3 separate regions of the Homo sapiens genome follow, and regions 1 and 2 are each linked to region 3. The links are contacts of gene promoters, found by promoter capture Hi-C in blood cells and fetal thymus (Javierre and others, 2016). All regions are on one chromosome and are shown on one strand. The core of a region is centred on a gene start or on the middle of the fragment in contact, and the rest is flanking DNA. Distances in the headings are between cores, read along the strand shown. Region 1 holds the start of LOC105375547 (a long non-coding RNA gene). Region 2 overlaps KEL (Kell metallo-endopeptidase (Kell blood group)). Region 3 holds the start of TAS2R40 (taste 2 receptor member 40).

What was found. The method cuts DNA at HindIII sites, captures the fragments that hold promoters and counts their contacts. A CHiCAGO score of 5 or more calls a contact.
Region 1: a fragment that was not itself captured here is called in contact with the fragment with the promoter of TAS2R40 in region 3 in 2 of 17 cell types (M0 macrophages and M1 macrophages); the score reaches 6.1 in M0 macrophages.
Region 2: a contact is called between a fragment that was not itself captured here and the fragment with the promoter of TAS2R40 in region 3, in 4 of 17 cell types (M1 macrophages, M0 macrophages, naive B cells and 1 more). The highest score is 6.8, in M1 macrophages.

What each region holds. Positions count from the first base shown.
Region 1 is chr7:143,492,071-143,494,770 of GRCh38, forward strand. The region is part of intron 2 of EPHA1-AS1 (EPHA1 antisense RNA 1); the gene reads left to right. LOC105375547 (a long non-coding RNA gene) reads left to right here and starts at 907. Exons shown (of 2, transcript XR_928075.3): 1 at 907-2,700. RefSeq lists a silencer at 1-200. The HindIII fragment of the contact is 2,379 bases long and covers 113-2,491 here.
Region 2 is chr7:142,956,229-142,958,928 of GRCh38, forward strand. KEL (Kell metallo-endopeptidase (Kell blood group)) reads right to left here. Exons shown (of 19, transcript NM_000420.3): 5 at 2,076-2,200; 6 at 1,599-1,745. Among named protein-coding and RNA genes, the nearest start is that of KEL, 4.8 kb to the right of the region's middle. RefSeq lists an enhancer at 1,550-2,265. The HindIII fragment of the contact is 585 bases long and covers 1,159-1,743 here.
Region 3 is chr7:143,220,718-143,223,417 of GRCh38, forward strand. TAS2R40 (taste 2 receptor member 40) reads left to right here and starts at 1,320. Exons shown (of 1, transcript NM_176882.2): 1 at 1,320-2,362. The coding sequence starts at 1,362. The coding sequence ends at 2,333. The HindIII fragment of the contact is 3,585 bases long and covers 1-1,823 here.

The DNA.
Region 1 (2,700 bases), core at 52-2,551, 270 kb after region 3:
AAGGTATTGGGATAACAAATCAATCAGTCTGGTCTCCTGCTTAGGAACTCAGCCTGCAGGGAGAATAGAAAGAGTGAGTCATCATGACCTTATCAGGGGAGTTTTCAGAGGAAGCTTGATGAAGACATCTGGTAAGAGGAGACATAGAGTCTGGCTATGTAATCAGCTCAGCAGATCTGTAGAAATAATAAAGTAGAAACAAAAAACAAAACAAAACAAAAACAAGAAATAGTGCTCTTGCCTCTTAAAAAAGTAGATGAGGTTTAAGGTATGCTAAGATTCATATAAGGAGGCCTGGGCTTCAAGCTGTATCAGGAAACCATCTACGTATCCATTGGGTACATTGCTACATTTTAAAGCCACAGTTTCTTCATCTACAGAATGAGCAAGTTAGATTAGGTACATTAAGATTTCTTCCAGCTCTAAAGATTTGTGATAAGTGAATATACATAATCTGTGGTTTAAAGTAGTATAGAAGGGAAAAATAGATCCTTTGGTGTTTGATTGCTCTAAGCATGCATAGCTAGTGGGACTGTAGGCAATGAGATATGAATTAGTGGGTTTTGGGTTCAAAGGATTCAGATCTCACACATAGCTGATTGGGGAGGTGTCAATGAACGGGACTAATTGACTCAAAACCAGAGACTAAGGAAACGGGGAAGAGGACTACACCAGTAGAAATGGCAAAACTACTTGGGCCAAGGCTGAAAGGCTGGTAGCCTTCTGATACGTAAGCCTCCTTCCTAAGCACTGCAAAAGAAACTACCATCAGAGTGAACAGGCAACGTACAGAATGGGAGAAAGTTTTTGCAATCTACTCATCTGACAAAGGGCTAATATCCAGAATCTATAATGAACTCAAACAAATTTACAAGAAAAAAACAAACAACCCCATCAAAAAGTGGGCGAAGGATATGAACAGACACTTCTCACCATCTTCTTTATCAAGAAAAGATGAAGGTCTATGTCTATCTTTGGTTCTTATACCAATCCAAGCCCTTCTCCATTCCTTCTTATCTCCAACAGAATAGAAATGCCTCAAGGCCAAGAAAAGAGTCATCTCCCTTTTGACTTCCATTCTTTAGTTTTTAAAATGTATATCTACATATACTGAGCACTTCAGTTTATGCTGTTGATTTGGTGACTGACAAGAACTAGGACTCTATCAAGTGGCTTGAAAACACTGATTTATATCATCTAGGTCACGGGAGGAATTCAAAGAGCCTCCAACTACAACCAGTGAGAAAAACAGTGGAGGATCACAAAACAGTCCCGGGTGCTCCCAGGAATTTGGGCTTTATCCTCCTACCACCTCCTCTTAGCCTTCCTTGTGGGTGACTCACCAAGGCTGAGTGCTCACTTCATGCACAGGACATTTTGAATGTGGAGATGTACATCTCTTAGAAAGTCCTTGATACAGTTGTTCATCCTCTTCTTCGTGATGCAGGCTTTACTTTGTCAGTATTAGCTGATAACTTTTCAGAATTTAGGCATCCCCAGAGGGAAATTACTTGCTCTTGGTGTGTTTCTTACTCATTCTTCCCCACAGCTACTTCTCTGCAACCACAGCTCCCTCCTCTACTAAGTTCCCTGTGGAATACATATTCTAAAAACATTTTATTTCAACTTTTAATTGTCCTTCTAGTTCCTAGCATAATGAGCCCTTCTGTAACTCTTTTATATCTTTTACTGCCCTTCAATGCTGTGGCATCACTGAGGACTTTTAGTAGAAGTTGGGATTCAGAAACATTTACTTTTCTGACCTGGTGAGAAGGGACTGAAAGTAATTGAGATAGGAAAGAGAAACTAAAATTTTAGAACCTGGTCTCCTTCCTAAAGGAAGAAAATGAAAGCACCTTCACCCCTCCTCCCACACACCTAGTTTTAGTGACAGTGACATCTAGTTTTAGAGTGGTGAGGACACATCGCACATTAGAATCATCACATCCATGGCCTGGGAGCCATTGAGAAGTCTCAAGTTCACAGTCATTAAAATAGTTCTGCAGGTTCTTTGATGGTCTCCCACATCACATTCCTGTTGTGTTTCCTTTGCATATTTTCATATTACTAGAAGTTTTTTCTTTATCAGCTTTCCTAATACTGATCTCCCGGTTCTTGGCCATCTTCCACAAAGTTTTAATTTCTTCACTGGAATTACTAGAAGGAGCAGAGGAAACAATGGGTCAGGATGAGGTTTTATTCCCAATATTTAACTATTTATTTCTATAGTAATAGAACATGAGTCTTTGGTAAAATGGGGAGAAAAAAGAGAGACATCAGTGTGTAACCCACTAAATTTTTTTTATAACAATTGGCCAATATTGCAAGATAAAGGTTTACTTACCTGGAAGATTTGTCATTGTAATGACAATGGACTAGGGAACTGTTGTTTAACTTCATGCTCTTCCCCTTTGGGCAAGACCTGAAGAATCTTGGGTTTATCTTTGCTGCTTCCACTGCCCAGGTAAGCTCAGGACCTCACAGGGCCTGAAGCTTTCCCCACCTCAAGGTCTGTGGATGGAGAAAACTGCTAGAACTTCTGACTGAGAGTTGTAGCCAAAGGTTAAGGAGGAGAGCAGCAGTAAAAAGAAAACCAAGGGCACCATGAGGGGGAAGAAGAAGAAAATGACATCTGAGAGGTGGGACCCCTGATGCACTTCAAAGGCAGACTCGGTATGAGCTGACACAGATGACTCCAGT
Region 2 (2,700 bases), core at 201-2,700, 260 kb before region 3:
ATGAACTATCATCACTAGGGTGAAGTTGCCTAAATCCTTGTGCCTGGCTCTTCCTTTCCATTTCTACCTCTATCTCAGGGCCTCAAAAATGCTCATTTAGTTTCCTCAACACCCCCAGACTGACCTTCAAAACTGCTGACTCTACGCACAACCATCAAAATACTTGCTCTATGCACAATTGTCATAAGAGTTGGATGGCCTCAGTAGCTCTTTTTTTTTTTTCTATTATGTCAAATGTTTCACCTTCGCCTGGCTTCTTAGAAATAATCAGGCTCAACCTTATGTCTTCAGTCTCACTTTTACCTCCCACTGCACCCCACCTTGCCTCCCAAATCCTCAATTAAATAGATCAGCCTCCTCACTGACTCCACGAAGGAATCACACCATTCCAGGTCCTCCCCCTGGCTCAGCATTTCCAACGCCCCATAGCTTCACCTCCACTTGTGTGAATTAACCATGTTTCAAGGCTGGCTTAGCTCACCTTCTCTCATTCTCTCCTCTCTGAGCCTCTCCTTAACCAGATCTTAACCGGCCCCTAAAGGCCACATCAGTTAAACTCCTGAGCAGACTGTTTAAAACTAAATTTTAGAACACCTCATAATGATAATCAATTCTTCTTTTGTACTTATCCTTTGGTAATTTTGTGGCTCTTTTGACAGTAGGGCCCAAATATGCAGATAGCATTACATTGTTTAACCACAAGAGTGATAGCTCCAGTGTTTTTATTTAGTTACTCACTCACTACAAATACCTGGCAAAACTTCTAGCTGCCTGGCCCTGTGATAGGTCCTGAGAAACAAAGGTGAATAAAGCATGGTCCTGTTCTAAAGAGGCTCACAATCTTCAACACAGAGTGATAAATGCTGAGAGCATGAGGAAACGAAAGTAGGGAGAGCAGGGCTTCACCTAACTCATAACTAGGGTGTCGGTGAAGACTTCCTGGAAGAGATAATAAAGCCAACATTTGAAAAACATGTAAGTTTTCCAGGTTCAGTGTGGGGGATGGTTGCAGGCACAGGGAGCAGCATAGGCAAAGAACTGAGGAATATTCCTGGAAGCAGCAGTGAGTCAGCATGGCTTGGGGGTAAGGGAGAGAAGGAATGTACGGGAGATAAGGCTGGAGAAGTGTGTAGGGGTCAGATCACAAGGTGCTTGCAAAGCTTTACTAAAGATTAGGGACTAGATTCTGATGACCTGGCAAGCCACTGGGTCACTGACAAGCATTTAAATACAGACAGTAGCATAGTTAGTTAGCCCTTGGTTTAGAAAAGTTCCCTCTAGTAAAAATAAAGAGTAAATAAAATGAGGGCAATCCTAGAGATAGGAGGACTGGTTAAGGGGCTCTGAGACTAATCCAGATTAACAGTAAGAAAGACCAGGCCTACTTCTGTCTTCCCAGCACTGGCTCTGCTGCTCCATTTCCCACCCCCAGCTAATGTCCCTGACTTTCACATCAATAATTTTCCCTTAAGGTAGGGTTGTTTCCTATATCACACAGGTGTCCTCTCTTCCCAACCTGCAACCTTCCTCTAAGGGATGATTGGCTAGAGTTGGAGGCAGGCCAGGTCCAACTGTGTCTTCGCCAGTGCATCCCTCACCTGGATGACTGGTGTGTGTGGAGAGGCAGGATGAGGTCCTAGGTAGGCTCTGAAGAAAGGGAAATGGCCATACTGACTCATCAGAAGTCTCAGCGTTCGGTTAAAGTTTAAGGAAGTCCATTTACCAGAGATGCGCCAGCCTCCAAGCTTTAAAGGAGAGAGAGGGGGCTGAGCATAAGGATCCGTGGAGCCCATCCCCCATTGTCTGGATCGGCTCTTACACAGCTGCTACTGCCTGACCTCTGCCCTGCGCCCTTCGATTCCTCTAGGAAGCCACATCTATCCTTTTTTATCTGCCTTCTCCCAAGGTCCTGATACTTTCATAGGGCATAACCATTTCCATCTCCATCTCCCTCCTAGAAATTGGGGGGCCCTAGGAAGAAGACCCACCCTCTAGAAAAAAAAATGGCAGCCCTAAGCATGCATTGGTCCCATATGTTATGTATCCAGAAAAGTTAATATCCCAACTTTTCTCACCTCCTCAATAACTTGTCTGAGGGGACCAGTCCCTGCAGCTTCAATGGCAAGTGTATCCATGCAGGAGTTGTAGAACTGGAAGGCTTTCTCCTCCCCAGAGCCTGGGTGCCAGGAATTCTGGACCTCTAGAAAGGAAGCATGGGAGTGAGGACTAAACTCTGATTTTTTTTATCTTGCCCCAAATTCCTATCAAAGGGGTCTGGGGAGTCATGCCCTATATCATAAGTTCTCATCAGATGGGTTTTATTTAACCCATGTAACATGATTTACTTTCTAACCTGATTCTGGCATAACATTACGAGACAAAGAAGAAAACAAAAATATTTTACCCCAAAACATGTTTCTTTGCCACATTTTGAAATGGCCCTGCAAAGCTGTTCTTTGTGGAGGAAAATTTGCATCTGTAAAGCATCTCTATTAGCTATTAACATATCTCATTAACATAGCTAGATCTTTTGATTAACTAAGATCTGAATAGGAAACATTTGTCACCTATTGTCTCTAAGGGCAGCCACTATAAGACTTCAAAAGAACTTCGGTCTCCGCAATCTTTATCTTACCCTGAACATTCCCTTTCTATCTATCCCAGATCTTTAGACAAACTCAAGCAACTGTCAATCCGGAA
Region 3 (2,700 bases), core at 70-2,569:
AGAAAAATAATCAAATAAAAATAACAGGGTAAGCACACTGGAAAATGATAACTGGCACTCAGCTTCTGTGTCAAGAAGACACTAGGAATTAGTATTGTCAACAAACTGAAAAGTATATACCTTGTTTAAAATGGGCAGCCATTACTCAGCTTCAGCCAGTTCACTATGAAGACCCAATACTGCCAAATCTTCTAATTTTTCAAGAGAAGATAGATTTTTTGTGCATGCATATAAGTAATCTCCTAAGTTTAAATGTTTGCCAATAGAACCCCTCAAAAAGAAAAGTTACACACTGGTGGATTAATGCTGTACAGCATTAACCAATGCAAGGTAAAATGACTACAGGCCAAATCTGACCCAAGGCTCATTGGTTTCCAGCTAAGATTTTGGATCTCAATCCTGACTATGAGCAACAAGACCTTTCGGCTTTTTTAAAAGATAGCATGCCTGAGCCCTAGTCCAGTTCTGATTTCCTAGATTTGGACGAGTCCTGGGCATCTACATATTCTTGTAAAGTGCCAGAGTTCATTCTGGTTCACAGCCAGGGTTAAAAAGTAGGAAATTAAATTTCAAGTCATAGTACCTTATCACATTTCCAAACTTCAACACCATGTCCAGAACACTGAATTCTCCCCAGGCTCATTCTACCTGATTCTGAGCTCAAATAGTCATGTGGGATCTCAGTAAGCTGAAATTGATGACACATACACAAACAATAAAAACTGGGACTATGGAGACTTCCTTCTCTCCAACTCGAATAGCATCCAATTTTGGCTTTTCTATATACTATTCGAGGACATTATAATAGCAGGCCTTTTTGGAAGAAACTCAATTCTAAGTAAAAGATGTTCATATATGAGCTTATGGGAATTTCTTATTCACAAACATGGTAACTATCAAAATAAAACTCTCTCCCAAAATAAGAGAGACAAGAAAAGAAGTGGGGAAAACAGATTTTAAAAGCTGTATGAGCTTTTACAAATAATTTAGCAGGTAACAGAGATCTTGTGAGACAAGTAAAAAGGCCTTGTATTCATTGCTTATCAGGTAAATGTGGACTTAAAGTAAATAAGGTAAGAAGGTGTTGAGCTAGAAACATGTCTCAAATTATTTCCAGTGAGCTTCTGAAAGCCCAAGACAAATGTATCTTTATGAAAAATTGAGACAGACCCAGTAACCAGATCCTCTCATTATTTGCATGTGAAGCCTCTAACTTGTAGTCATGTGATAAACAAATGGAGAAAAATTGGAAATAACCATTAATGAGGGCGGCAGAAATTATAACATTGAGCAAGGGTCAGAAGATTGCAGAGCAGTTACCCATTCTTGGCGCAGAAACCTGAAAGTCAGGATCAAAGAGAATGGCAACGGTGAACACAGATGCCACAGATAAAGACATATCCAAGTTCAAGGTCACCTTCACTTTGGTGGTCTCCGGAATAGAGTGCATCACTGGCATCCTTGGGAGTGGCTTCATCACGGCCATCTATGGGGCTGAGTGGGCCAGGGGCAAAACACTCCCCACTGGTGACCGCATTATGTTGATGCTGAGCTTTTCCAGGCTCTTGCTACAGATTTGGATGATGCTGGAGAACATTTTCAGTCTGCTATTCCGAATTGTTTATAACCAAAACTCAGTGTATATCCTCTTCAAAGTCATCACTGTCTTTCTGAACCATTCCAATCTCTGGTTTGCTGCCTGGCTCAAAGTCTTCTATTGTCTTAGAATTGCAAACTTCAATCATCCTTTGTTCTTCCTGATGAAGAGGAAAATCATAGTGCTGATGCCTTGGCTTCTCAGGCTGTCAGTGTTGGTTTCCTTAAGCTTCAGCTTTCCTCTCTCGAGAGATGTCTTCAATGTGTATGTGAATAGCTCCATTCCTATCCCCTCCTCCAACTCCACGGAGAAGAAGTACTTCTCTGAGACCAATATGGTCAACCTGGTATTTTTCTATAACATGGGGATCTTCGTTCCTCTGATCATGTTCATCCTGGCAGCCACCCTGCTGATCCTCTCTCTCAAGAGACACACCCTACACATGGGAAGCAATGCCACAGGGTCCAGGGACCCCAGCATGAAGGCTCACATAGGGGCCATCAAAGCCACCAGCTACTTTCTCATCCTCTACATTTTCAATGCAATTGCTCTATTTCTTTCCACGTCCAACATCTTTGACACTTACAGTTCCTGGAATATTTTGTGCAAGATCATCATGGCTGCCTACCCTGCCGGCCACTCAGTACAACTGATCTTGGGCAACCCTGGGCTGAGAAGAGCCTGGAAGCGGTTTCAGCACCAAGTTCCTCTTTACCTAAAAGGGCAGACTCTGTGACTGGAACTCACGGAGTTCTGCGGGACCTGGTCCAACCACTTCTGCCTTTGCCTCAGGTAGAACTCTCTCCTCACCCGTCTCTTCTCTCCCAAACCTGCTCTGACACTTCTCAGATAACGTGATCCTTTTATAAATATGAAGCTGAATTTTTAACTTGAGATTCTAAACAGAAGTAACTAAGAAACCTGAAGATGGACTTTGAAAGCTCCTTGAACTATGTTCATTCATATCCTGCCCTGAGATCTCTCCACTTTCTTCTCCTCCTGAGCCTTAAGGAGAGGGTGGCCAGACATATCGGTTTGCCAGGGACAATCTCTGTTTATTGTCTGTTGTCAATTGAGCATCCTTTAATTCTCAAGAATATCAT